3 separate regions of the Homo sapiens genome follow, and regions 2 and 3 are each linked to region 1. Evidence: promoter capture Hi-C in 16 types of primary human blood cells and fetal thymus (Javierre and others, 2016). All regions are on one chromosome and are shown on one strand. The core of a region is centred on a gene start or on the middle of the fragment in contact, and the rest is flanking DNA. Distances in the headings are between cores, read along the strand shown. Region 1 holds the start of LRRC8B (leucine rich repeat containing 8 VRAC subunit B). Region 2 holds the start of LOC107985743 (a long non-coding RNA gene). Region 3 has its middle 94 kb from the start of LRRC8D.

Region 1 (4,575 bases), core at 1,084-3,583:
CATTGGCTAAAACAAGGATGTTCTAAATTGTAAAATATTTTTCCCCTTAAACTTCAGAAAACAACAAAAAATAACAAATTTCAGGCCACTACAGGAAAATACATGGATTAGTCTAAAAAACTTGGAAGGCTTAGTATCCTTTAAGTTTTATTAAGCCCCTTTTCATTTTACTTACTGTTGGTGTTTTCACTCTGAGGATTCTGAAAATTAAAATAGCAATGGGAAATGGTGATAGTGGTAGAGAAGAGGTTTAAAAAAGCAAATCTCAACTAGTCAAATGAAATCATTCAAAATGTGAAAAGATTCATAATAGGCTGAACATGTTGGAACACCTTACCAATTGAGGAAAAAGAGAACACATTTCAAAGAATGGTAAACTTAATTCCGACATGCAGATTTAAAAATGTTGTTGGGGATACTAAGTATAAGGAAAGTGCCATGACCCAAGGGTGCACTCAATGACAACATCACCCCCATTCAAGAGACCTCTTTTTAGCTTACAGAAATATCAGACATGTTAGGGCTTATATTCTAAAATTACACAGGCCCAATTACCTTGGGGGTTGGCTGTCACTTTATATTCTCTGAGTAGAGCTGCTGACAAGGAAAGCCAGGAGAAAAAGAAAGTCACCTCGGCACCCACAATTCAGAGAGCATTTGGGGTCACACCTGTAATCCCAGCACTTTGGGAGGCCGAGGTGGGTGGGTCACTTGAGGTCAGGAGTTTCAGACCAGCCTGGCCAACATGGTGAAACCCCGCCACCACTAAAAATATAAAAATTAGCTGGGCGTGGTGGCGGGCCCCTGTAGTCCCCGCTACTCGGGAGGCTGAGGCAGGAGAATCACTTGAACCCAGGAGGTGGAGGTTGCAGTGAGCCGAGATCGCACTACTGCACTCCAGCCTGGGCGACAGAGTGAGACTCCGTCTCAAAACAAAACAAAGAAACAAAACAAAGAGCATTTGGGGTTCTCAGGAGGTGTAGCCTGTACACATAGAGGGTACTGGAATTGTTTAAAAAATTACACTGCAGTTTGACTTCTTTTCCATCCTCACTCCTACACCTAGGTTTAGGGGACAGAACCATCTGATAAAGATAAATCTGTTTTAAGATTTCTGGGGTGTTCTGCAAAGACTACTATATCATTTGCAAATAGGTTGTCTTTTAATAAAAATCATGCTACGTAATGTCTTCTTAATATACGCTGAACAAATTGCCTGTTTTAATTTGGCTATATATCTACAATTTAAAATGTTCATACTGTTATCTTTTACCAGTGGAGTGTTTTTTTGTTTGTTTGTTTGAAGTCTTTAGGCGAAGTGAATTTATTCAAGGAAGTTCACATGTCGGTTTTGTTCTTTTAGAGGGGTGTCTTTTTGACCACAAAGAAAAAAAAAGTTTTCCACAAATGTCATCTAACTAAAGGCAATCTATGGACTTTAGGAAGTCAGTTGAGCACACAGATTAATGAGCCAATACTGAGCCTCCTCCCTTCTGACCTCTCAGCACCTGCTCAACTAAGCTCAGGGGAAACTCTTGAGTCTTCTTCTTAAATTGGTAACGCTTGCCCTTTCTTTCTCAAACAAATCAACGCCCAACACCACCACCAAATTATAGGCAACCAACGCGTATCCAACAGCATAAAATAGTTCCCAAGAGCATAAAATAGTTCCCAACAGCGCCAGCGCAGGGGGCAAAACAGAGCGACCAAATGGGGGCACCCTCAGGGGAGTTGCGCTCATCTGGAGCGAGACGCCAGCCTGGGAAAGCGGAACCCCTTTCCCGCCCCGCCCCGAGGACTCACGCTCAGGTGCAACGCCGAGACTCCCGGGGGAAAGAGAGGTGACCGTCTCGGCGCGACCGCCCACACCTCTTGCTCCAAATGACCCCAGCACACAGGAGAGGTCCTCTCAGCGTGGGACTCCGTCTCTCCCGAAGGCAGGGAGCACAACGAAGCGGCCACTCGTCTCTGCAGCCGCGCTACCGGCCCGCAGCCTGGCTCGCAGGTGAGGCGTGAACAGGTAACCGCACCTGTTCGGCCAGCCCCACCTGCTGCGTCCCCGTATCCGGTCCTCCTCCTCCACCACCTCGGTCGGCGCGGCTCGCCCTCCTGGAACCGGGGTGTCACGCTCCGACCTACCTGCGCGACTCCAGCCCCGGACGCCCGCGCTCCCCGCGGCGTGCTCCTGGGCCGCTCCGGGCGGGCAGGCTGCGGCCCCGCGCCCGCACTTTCCCGGCTGCCGGAGGCTGCGGGCTCAGCGGGAAGCCCCGGCGCTGTCCGGCTCGCCGCCTCCGACCGGCTCCATTGTGACGCGACGCGTTCCGCTGGCCAATGGGCGCTCGGCGGCGCGAACCGCTGACTAAGTTCGCGGGTGGAGGAGGAGGGGACGGGGCGGAGGCAGGGCGCGGAGGCGGCTACCACGGTGGTGGCGGTAGCAGTGGCGGAGGAGGAGGAGGAGGAGGAAGAGGAGGAAGAGGCTGCAGTCGCTTCGGTAGCTGCTCCTGCTGTGAATTTTTCAGCTGCCTGGGCCTGAGTGTTTGCCCAGCTCTGGGGCTGCGGGAGCCAGTGACTCACCTATCACTGCTGGAAACAAAGCGCAGCTGCCATCTCCCCGAGCGCGCCATGTGGCCATCGCTGCCCCCTCGCCCAGCCTGGGGTCCGCAGGAGGTAGCGCACAGCCATACGCCCCGCGGAGCAGCTGGAAAGAGCGGGGACTGCTTTCCAGAAGCGGGAGGGAAATGGGCTTCGGCGTGTCCCCCAGGCGCGCCACACCGGTGACTTCGGCACTACACCGCGTGTGTCGGGCCCCAGCCTTCTCACGTGTGCGTCCCTGAGTAACTTGGCATTTATATAACGCGTGTTGGGCCCTGAGGGAAAGGTCGGGTGCAGCACGCGGGAACCTCCTCTTCGAAAAGGAAGTCCCCTTACTTTTCTTTACCCTGCTTAGAAAGATTGCAGGGCCCAGCCTCTGTGAGGGAGGGTTTACAGTTGTACCAACTAAGCGGCTTAAGTTCGATTCTGGCCTTCCAATACCATTGGCTTCTCTCAAATGTCGTTATCCTCAGGATAGGGAGGGGACCACATGGCCGAGGGGCGGTCCCTATACTCATAACCTGCCTTTCACTGCGATTCAACTGCAGAGACACCTCAACTACTGCCCGCTTGCTTCTCTCCCAAGTGGCACTGCATTTGAAGGCCAACAATATTCCTTACGAAACAGAATTAATCCAAACCCACAAATTCTAGGGACATAAATATTTTTATCATCCTCATCCATTTCCCCACTCTCACCCTTACCCCAGTTTTAACTCAGTCTCTGCCCTGGCTATTATCTTGAGCACACTGATTCAATTAGGCAAGATTTATGTCTTTTAGTTGCTATGGTGGTCACATCTCCATTTAAAAAAAGAAAGAAAAAACAAGTTTGTACCGGCATCTCCCAAAGGAATAAAATGAAGACGAACAGACTCAGCATTTGGGGCATCTGAGCAGTTTGTGTAAATGGGAGTATAGCAAATGCCCTATCGAGTTAATATGAGACAAGAGTTGTGTCTCAGACTGTTCAGATGAGGACTACAATTTGAGTCACCCTGAAAGGGAAAAAGAAGGCTGTCTTTGTGTCACTGATCTGTTCTTTTCTTGTTCACTCAGTCCATTCTGGAACTGCAGATATCTTTTTTCTGAGTCTTGAAGGAAAAGCTGAAAGAACATTTCTTCACTTGGTCATTCGATAAATTTTTATTGAGTTTATATGTGTGAGACACTGGGTATGCACAGATCTACAAGTCTAATTTAAATTTAGGTTTGATCCTTACAGGAGTATCTGAAATTCTCTCAGGGACTTTCTGATTAATTATTTTTGGTAGAAGAAAATTCTAAAAGACTCTGTCACTACTTTCACAGCCAGATTTACCCAAGTCTAAAATAGTGATTAAAAATTCCATCATGGATTTTAAGCACCAAAAAAATGACAGGCAGGTCTCAATCGTTTTAGAGGTTTATTTTGCCAAGGTTAAGGACATTCCCCAGGAGAAAGCACAAATACAGGAACATCTGTGATCTGTGCCTTTTGCAAAGAGAGTTTTTGAGGACTTCAGTATTTAAAGGGGAAAGAGCCAGCAGGAGGGGAAGGAGAAAAGAAAGAAAAAAAAGGGAAATGGGAAGGTAGGCAATGAGGGAAGAAGTTACATTCTTGTGAGGCTTTGATTAGTGCCCAGTGAATTCACATTTTGCGTGTGAAGAGTGGGTAGAGGAATACTGATTATGTGTTCCTCTCATGCTCAGTAAATCTACATTTTACATAAGATAAATGTGAAAATAGGGGGAAAGTCAATTATGAATTTGTCTTGGGGTGGGCAGAGGGATGATTTCCAAGTCTTGTCCTTATACCATACATATGAAGATGAGCTGTTATTGTCAGAGTGAGATTCAACAGAACTGTGTTTTAGGGCTCATTTATAGGAGGGATATGCATTCTGAAAGATTTAGGGACCCACAAGGCATTTCACTGTAAGCAATTTGTGAGGGAGGCTATCTGGGGAGATATGTGGCCTTCTATTGTTGCAGCTACCTGGT
Region 2 (4,575 bases), core at 707-3,206, 220 kb before region 1:
TAGTTAATATGTTTGATAGAATTAAAATTCAAAAATATCTCAACCGGGTGGAAAGATATACTAAATTAACAAAGAGATATTTAGGAAGATTAAATATAAAGTCCTACACTTTTGTTAAATTAAAAATGAACTATTTTAGTACAAGGTGGAAAATACCTTCCTTGACACATTTCAAGTAAAAGAAAACCACACAAAACAAATGGTTTTAGTTAACCACATGCTCAGTATGAATCCCAGGGCCTGCCAAAGAAATCTAAAGTAATCATAGCAGCATTAATGGATGTATGAAGTTTACAATAAAATCGATAACAATCCCCTTGTTCTCTTGGTTGGCTAGAGCACATCTGCTGGTGGGTTCAACAAAAGGGGCTCCCTTTAAAGAAGAAGACTGAGAAGCTGGAATGAATCCAGAGGAAAGTGAGTAGGATCCTGAGGTTTGTTGAAAGACATGGGGAAAACACTAGACTTCAGATGAAGAGATTCAGGTTTAAGTTTTGAAATTGCCACTTCCAGATGACATTGGGCAAAATCTACTCCCCACCTCTACCCAAAGCTGCATTTCTTCTCTCTAAACCTTATCTTCCTCCCGGGCAAAGAGGGAGATCTGTACTTGAATTTCTGAGGCCCTTTCCAACTTGAAAGTTTGGAAGCTACAAAATTACATCATCTGAGAACAGTTGAAGGAATCAGGGGAGATGTAGCCTAGAGCAGGAAATATTGAACGGGAACATAGGATCTGCTTTAATTATTTGAAAGGTCATCATGAGAAAAAGAAATTTAGATTTGCTCTGCGTGTCACTCAAGAACAGATCTATGGCCAGAGGGAAGAGGGTGTGGAGAATATTCTGATTGTCGGCACTTCCTAATGATGGAATGGGCTACCGTGTGAGACAGGGATCATTTAGCAGAAGCAAGACAGAAGTTCCCTTCTAGATCCTCCAAAAGTACCTGGCACAATTATATAAATCTGTGTGAGAACTACATAAACAATTTATCATGAGAACCTGCAGAAATCCCTCCAAATGTGCTCACCTCCAATCCACTTAGTCCATATTTGTCACCCATCAGCATCTTGGGTATCTTCTTTTTCTGGCTCTGTATACTTGATAACCTTCTTCCAACTTGGTGCTGAGATTGACAAGCTTATTTGGTGTTCTCCTTCTAGGTTGTGACCTTTACCCCTCTTTAAGACATAACTTTTTCTATCTGCTATTTGGCCCTTCAGACTGCAACTTTGGGCAATAGATGTCACAGTCGATGGCCTTCCCTAGCCAACAGAACAGTGTGCATTTAAACTGACTCCTCTGATGTTTTTATGTGATATGGGAGGGATATAGGACATTAGACTCCCTGTCAGGGCCACATAGAATAATCCTACCTTGGGTGGGAGGTTGGACTTGATGATCACTGAAGTCCTCTACCACTCTCAGATTCTATGATTTTAAGATTTATATTTACCACTGTTCACAGAAATAGAAAGTTTCAATGATTCTTTATCAGTGGTGATGCTCTTCCCAGAATGCCACCATTTAATAAGTCTCATATATGTACACATACTTCTGCTCCTGGACTTTGCAACTGACCTACTTTTAAAGCTCTTGGAGCAGCTCATGGAGATGAACTAATGCTTCTTAGTTTATTTGTTTCTGGTGTCCTGAATGACCAAAGGAAGCTCACGAAGTACAGCTGGCTAGAGAAGAAGGGAAAGCAGCATCAGTCGTGGAGCGGTGCTGATGATCCATGTGGTCAAACCATGGCTTTGGACTCTTTGGTTCTTGAGTTACCGAGAATCCAAGGCTGTTTGAAGAATGGCAAGGAGGAAAATCTGGCCATAGCTGTGTTGACTCCTAGAATGGTTAGATTCCAATGGAAAACAACAGAAGGTTAAGACCCTGGTTCCACAGGTATCCTGTACAATGGCTCTTCCTCTTCACAGTGATCTTATTAAAAACCCTGAATCTGATCATCACTCCACTAATACTCTCCAACTGTACTTATAATAATATCCAAACTCCATATCATGGCCTTAATGGTCTGATTCCTGTGTCTCTCTCCAGCCCTATTTCATATACTTATTCTAATATTTACTTCTTGAGGGCAGAAACCTTTTCTTATGTCCTGCTGCACCTGCAATATTGAGACCAGCACTTGGCACAAACCTCAATACCTGTTGGTTAAATAAATGAAACCAGGCTGGGCGCAGTGACTCATGCCTGTAATCCCAGCATTTTGGAAGGCTGAGGCAGGTGGATCACTTGAGGCCAGGAGTTTGAGACCAGCCTGGCCATCGTGGTGAAACCCCATCTCTACTAAAATACAAAAAATTAGCCAGGTGTGGTGGCACACACCTGTAATCTCAGCTACTCAGGAGGCTGAGGCAGGAGAATCACTTTAACCCAGGAAGCAGAGGTTGCAGTGAGCCAAGATTGCGCCGCTGAACTCTAGCCTGGGTGACAGAGTGAGACTGTATCTCAAAAAATAAATAAATAAATAATAATTAAAAAAATGAAACCAGTCTTGACTTCCAAAGGACTTTACTAAGTTCGTATAACGGAACCTCTCATCACTATATTCTTAAGAAGAAACCCTTTTTTGAACCCCCACCCCTATATTTCCATGACGCTTCAGGGATGAAAAGCACTCGTTTGATTACTGAGAGGATAGCTGGAGAAGTGAAGAATAATGTGATGTTCAGCTCAAACTCCTTGGGGGAATTCGGTTGTGAAAATGGAATTACCCAAGTTGGATTCCGCCCAGGATGCCAAGCTTAAGTTATTGGGTAAGTGCACATTAGAAAAATGAATTTTGGCAGCTGCCAAAATATTCTCTTTATGTGAAAGTAAGTGACCTTGGGTTTAGTTTCTGTTAACGGCTGGCTTTTTCTGGCAGAGGCAAGAGATGGATACTTTGCAATGGTTTTGCAATGACAGCAGCAGTACCAGGAAACTTGCGGGTTGTTACAGTGCATCCATTTCTCAGCATCCATTATAGTTAGGAATGTGATGGACCAAATGTGCTTTTTATTTTGCCAGTGTTTGGACTCTTCATTTGGAGAATAACCCATGATTGTAGCTGACTATATTCCAAGATTCATAAGCTTTGGCGCCTGAATCAGATACCTATGGAGGAAAAAGAAGCAATTTATTCATTCCTTTCTTTTTTTTCCTCTCCCATTTAACTGTCCCAAATGTCAGTGAATGAGTCAAATGTTCAATATTTTTCCACAGGGGCTGACTTTGGAGAAGCCAGTACAGTCCATCATACTGTTTTCTCAACTAGTTCATCGTGACATTCTGAGATTTTGAAAGGACACCTTTTCCGTGTCAAGCCGTCCCAGGGTGGCTAATATGCCTTTGCTCATTTTTGACAAGACAGAGGGAGGACAGGGTGACAACACAGCAGGATAAAAGGGGAGAGAGTGGCTGGATGCTGGCTGTTTATGCGTGGATGTTGAGAGTGGAAAATGCAGATGGAACTGAGGGTAAGATGCCAGGGAGTTGCAAGAGGGCTCCTTCTCTGAATAACCTCATATTCCAGAAAACTCATAAAATTGGAAAATAGTTTTAAACAGTGGAAGCCTTCTCTGAGGCATTTATATTCCCTGTTAATAAGGTCACAAATAATCACCTTTATTATCAATCCAAATAAAGTATATGATGCTGCTCATGGTAGGATTGGGAGAGAACCACCCCAAAATACCTCCCCAACTAGCCTAGTAAGGTGCCTACAGGTTCTACCCATACTCTTTCTTTGAGTAAAAGCACTAGCTTTCAAATATCCTGAGAAAATGCTGGTATTTTAACTGGGAGAAGAAGATCAATGGACAGGGACAGGGTTGGTTTATTTAGCTGTCTGCTAAGAGTGCAAGAGATTTGCGATGGACTGAATGTTTATGTCTCTCCCAAATTCATGTATTGAAATCCTAATCCCAAGGTGGAGTATTAGGAGGTGGGGCCGGTGCACAACAGCAAGTGCTCTCACAGTGGAGAGCTCTGGGAAGGCAAAAACATCCATGTGTTTGGAGGACCCAGCAAATGAGCCAGCAGATTCATGCCAACATAGACATGTGTGAGCTACTTAATGGTTGTGGCTTCACTACTTCCCTCCAACTTTCACACAATATCTCCTGTGGTCCACACTAATGGGAAACACGCAGCAAAGGGAATTCTGGGAAATGCAGTTCAGCCTCATCAAGTTGACACCCATCAAGCCACCATACCAGGTCAGTTGATTCCAGGATGTGTGGCCTTTCCATGACAACACATTGCCCCTCCTCAAATGGCTCTGTCCATTGCTTGCTCAATCTTTACACCCAAGAAAGGCATTCTTCCTAGGTCAGCTCAGTTTAAGTATTGATACCACAGGCCTGGAACAGGGCAAGGCACGGTGGAGAAGGATCAAGAGGTGAGCATCATCCTGAGGAGACCCTACAACAATTAAACTGCAGTTGGAAAGAAAAAGAGTCTCATCCTTGGGGTGAGCATAGTAAGGGTGAGGCACTTGGTCTTCCACATATCCCTGGCCCCCAGTACCACTTTCTCCCATAGCCCCAGGTACAGCTGTGCCGTCTCTGTA
Region 3 (4,575 bases), core at 564-3,063, 200 kb before region 1:
AAGTGTTTTCCAGGGATCTGCCAATCTGACTCTATTCCCTTCCAAGGGAGAAACAAGGAATGACCTCCTTTGGGGCCTTAGCGGGTGTCAGGGAAAAGTGATTATAAGCCTGCTTAGACCAACCCAGGAAGAAACCAGCCATATTAATGGGTTCAGAGTGTTATTCTGAGTTCAGTGGGCAAGGGTTAGTGGATTCTCCAAAAAAGCTTACCTGCTAATGCTTTTTTGGGAGGCGCCACGGCAGGGTTGCAAAAATAAGAGAAAAGGAAAATCCAGGCTGGGAGGAAGGAAAGTGAATATTCATTAATGAGTTGGTCACAGCTTCATGACAAAACAGCCTGTTGCTTGGTGGTATGAGACATCCCTGGCAGGACAAACCAAACCACTCAGCCTAGGAATCACCCACAGGAGGAAGGGAGGGCGTAGAATTTATTGGCAGTCCCCTCAGGGTCTTTTTTTTTTTTCTCTATTTGGTCAAATTTCACCCTACGGGCATAAACTGCCTCTCACTTTCAGGTTGTGTCACCTGGTCCCTCTGAAGAGCCACTGTAGGGGCCAGTCTCATATTCCAAACTGCGCTGCTTCCTCTGTAACGGAAAGTGGTGGGAAGAGTCAGAGTCTCCCAGGGTGTGGTCAGGGAAGCGTGGGTGCCAGAGATGCTGTGGCTCCCTGCTATGGCAGAGAGGGTCCTGCCAGAGGCTGAGGCAGGGGTTGCAAAATAATTAAGCAATGGCACCATCAGAGGAGAAGTGTGCTCTCTAGCGTTTCAACCTGTGGTCTTCCCATTAGCATCAAAGCCCTTGGTTGGGAGAACCAAGGCATTCTGCAGAGTGCTGTCCAGAAGAAACACTAAGACCCGTGCTACCCAGGAGGGTAGGGCAGGAACACAGCATTAGAAAGAATGGGAAAATGAAACTAAGTTCTGTGGGCAGGAAAGCTCCACCTTTCCTCTGGAGACAGAAAAAGAGCAAGAGTCCTAATGGGGACACTTGGCTAACCAAGCTACGTCTTCCACTGTGTCTCTCGCCCTGAGTTATCCAGCCCACAGGGCTCCAAGCAGGCAGATTGGACTTACCTGGGGAGCAGGCTTGAAGGAGGATAAGCAGATACAAACTTTTGCACATCCTCATATACCCTGAGAATGGCACCTCACAGATGAGCACACCGGTACGATAAGGGGCAGAGGGAGGAAGAGAGCTTTGCACTGAGAATGGCGCTCAGAGTTCAGGTAAACTGGGTGGTTTCCTTTTGACTTTGTAGACATGAAACAGGGCAAATTCCCGTTAATCGGCTGGAAAACAGCAGCAAAGCGAAGGAAGAAACCGGGGTGTGAAATAAGGAGGAAGAGGCAGGGACAAAGGACAATGGGCCTGCTGGGTAGTTTTCCTGAGGTCTAGTGATGCCAAGAACAAGCTGAAGTAACACATTAATGTTTATGAGTCTCATGCACCATGAAATTTGATTGGGGCATTGTTAATCTGCCGACTCTTGGCTTCTCTCTGTAGCCTTTGGATTTCTAAAAAACGAGATGGTAGTTTCTTTCTTTTTACAAGAATTTGAACACAGGGAGGAGGCTCCAGACAGACTGTAAGATTATCCTGCCTTTGAATTTAACTGAGGATGGGCTTAAACACCTTCCCCAGTTTCCCACTGCTGGAGGATAAAATAAAGAGGTCTCTGGCATGGGTGGAATACACAGGGCACCCTCAAGCTGATCCTCACATCTTTCCATCTTTACCTCTCATCCATTCCAATGGCCGTGACCCTTCCCTGGCACCAAGCCCTCCAAATGACATCACGTGATCTCTCAGGCCTCTGTCCCCACCCTAAAAGCTCTTTCCCTGACGTCCTCTCATTTCTCTTCTGGGGATCACCTGCATCAAGACTCAGTTCAGGTTCATCTCCTGAAATCTTTCCCATGGCCAGGTGACTCTGGCCCACTTTCCCCGCTGCTCCTAGTGTGAACAGACTTCTGGGTTAGCTCTTACAACACATTGTAGCTATCTGAATGCATGGAGGCCTTTTCCTATTAGATTATGGACTTTTTGAGAACAAGGATCACAGTATTGATTTTTGGTCCTTAAGTATCTAGAACAGTATGTGCTACCTGGAAGGTGCCCAGAAAATGCTGGTTGGTTGAAAAAGCAGTTGTGTTGCCAGAGGACTTCACTTACACACTCACTGCATCACTTATCCTGCTGCCCAGTGGTAGCTGTTTAGCTGTGACTCTTCCATGATGCTCTAGCTCCTTAAGGACAAAGATACAAACTTGCTGCCCTTACAACAATGTCTAGCACATTCTGGGTGTTAAAAAATGTTGACTTTAGGAAAATGTGCAGTATTGTAGATAATTTTTATATTATCCAGAGCCAGAGTTCAGTCTATAGTCATCATGAGACTAGCAAGTTTTCTGAGTACAAGCATTGAGCTAGGCACATCACATACCTCAGGCCACTGATCCTCGCAGGAACTTTTAAAGTGGGTTTCCATTTTACAGATGAGGAGGATGTAGCTCAAGGAGCTAACTGATTTGCTCCAAAACACACATGCAGAAAGCGGCAGAGATGGGATGTAAACTCTGGACCAAATGTGTAATGGCCATGCATTACATCAGGGCCTCCCAGGCTCAGATTCTCTGATGCAGCCAAAGTTTTGGCTGTAGCCCTTAGTGCCTATAATGCCAGCTACCTGTCAACATCTGAACTTCAGAGAAAAGGGAACAAACCGTCTTCCCCAACTCCACTCAGTTCTTCTCCCAGCCCACCTAACTGCTCCATGATATAGCTAATTAGGCACTTGGCTGAGGGTGGGACCAGCATCAAGACATTTTACTACTTTCTGGGAAGGGTCAATACTTGGATATCTTCAATATAAACAGAGGCTGGAGAGTTTAAATAAACTTGCTCAAAGTCATGCATCAGGTAAATGGATAGTAAGAATTGGAACTCCTTTTGGACTCCAGGACTTGTGCTGGAAATGCAGGTCAAGCCTATCTTGTGGTCCACCTCGAAAGTCAGGGTAAGGCCCACAGACAATATCAAGAAGACACTGGGAAGGTTTTTGAGCAGAGGAGCAATAAGGTCAGAGTTACAGCTGGGAACACTAGTCTAATGGTGGAGAAGAGGAGAGAGTCTAGTGTGGAAGCGGGAGTGGCTGATGACGAGATTATTTAGGAGGCAGTTGCAAATACGAGAGTTGTGCCTAGAACAGGTTTACTTCTAAACACATGAAGCTGGAGATGACAGGCAGGAGGAAATGTCCATAAGGCAGTTGGAGGTGGGAGGTGGAAAAGAGATGCTAACCAGAACTAGAAATCTGGGAGTTGCCAAAAAAGGCTGCTGACATAGCCCTGAAGGTAAATGAGGCCACCAAGTGCTGGGGTAAGGACAAAGGGGTACAAAAGGCTGAGGAGTAAGCTTGAAGATTTGGCTTATGCAGAGGGCAGAAGAGGAGGGCTGTGAAAGACAGGAAAGAGGCAGAGGTCAAGCAACGACTTGTATCAGGCTGATCAAACAACTGGACAGCAGACACCAGAATCCCTCCTACATGATGGAAGTGTGTAGAGAAATACATGGGTAAGCCGCTAGGAGGGCCAAGGGTGGGAGTGAGGAGGTGGAGAGTGGGAGACCAGGAAACAAGAGAGAAAGTGAGAGGGCCCTCTGCCAGAAGTGAGGAACCTGAGACGGGTGTTGTGAAGCAGAGAAAAAGACGGAAGGGCTGGGAGGGGGAAGATGGGGATGGCTTTCACAAACATGGGGTTTTAGAGTAGCTTGCACTGCTCTCATGAATGCTCTGCTGTCTCTCCAAACCTTCAATAAAGTTTCTAAAATGCACAAAAACCTAGTGTGAGTGCTGGGGGAGATCCAGGAAGAGGGCAGTGGTTTACTGAAGAACAGGGATCAAACTCTAGAATGGAGATCTAACCTAAGCAATGGTGAGCTGATGAATGGAAGATGTTCCATAGAGACTGAGGCTCAGAGTCAGTGGCCTGAAAATGTAAACACATTGGAAACTTATGAAACCTTAGGGAGGGCAGTGGACTTGGGGGTATAGCCAATTTCATCTAAATCTTAGGGGACATACAGACTCCAGTTCGACATCTGCACTGCAACCTTATCATGGACGATCATAACTATTGAATATTCTTTCTGAACAAGCAAAATGTGTTGGTGGATTTTACAAGATTAAACATGAGTGACGCAAGCCCTCAATGATTTGGTTTGGAGATTTAGTAGGCTGGAGGGAGAACGCAGATCTTAATACAGCATTACATAGACACAGTTTACATCAGCCATTATAGGGCAGGCTGCCCAGCAGCGAGTCATTAGTTTAAATTGTCTGCTGAAGAACATCTCTGGGACTTTTCTGGTCCCTTTGCTCATGAGTAATTCTTTCCTAGAAAACTTTTTCCAACCCCTAAATGTTCCTCCTGATCTAGAAGAATGATGTGACCCAACTGAGAAGGCTGCCACAAAGCAAGGAGGCAAGAGACCTGCCCTCACTGCCTGTCCTGCAGTCACTGGGAGGGTTTGTAACCTTCACTAGGGTCAGGCTGGGGAGGGCAGGAAGCTAGAG

The links. The method cuts DNA at HindIII sites, captures the fragments that hold promoters and counts their contacts. A CHiCAGO score of 5 or more calls a contact.
Region 2: a contact is called between a fragment that was not itself captured here and the fragment with the promoter of LRRC8B in region 1, in 1 of 17 cell types (non-activated CD4 T cells). The highest score is 5.8, in non-activated CD4 T cells.
Region 3: a fragment that was not itself captured here is called in contact with the fragment with the promoter of LRRC8B in region 1 in 2 of 17 cell types (activated CD4 T cells and total CD4 T cells); the score reaches 6.9 in activated CD4 T cells.

The regions. Positions count from the first base shown.
Region 1 is chr1:89,522,587-89,527,161 of GRCh38, reverse strand. It overlaps LRRC8B (leucine rich repeat containing 8 VRAC subunit B), which reads right to left and starts at 2,333. Exons shown (of 6, transcript NM_001369817.2): 1 at 2,140-2,333. RefSeq lists enhancers at 305-806, 807-1,308 and a silencer at 2,010-2,469. The HindIII fragment of the contact is 21,216 bases long and covers 1-4,575 here.
Region 2 is chr1:89,742,270-89,746,844 of GRCh38, reverse strand. LOC107985743 (a long non-coding RNA gene) reads right to left here and starts at 3,032. Exons shown (of 3, transcript XR_002958333.2): 1 at 2,849-3,032; 2 at 1,033-1,847. The HindIII fragment of the contact is 1,624 bases long and covers 1,145-2,768 here.
Region 3 is chr1:89,724,908-89,729,482 of GRCh38, reverse strand. No RefSeq gene overlaps it. Among named protein-coding and RNA genes, the nearest start is that of LRRC8D, 94 kb to the left of the region's middle. The HindIII fragment of the contact is 3,210 bases long and covers 209-3,418 here.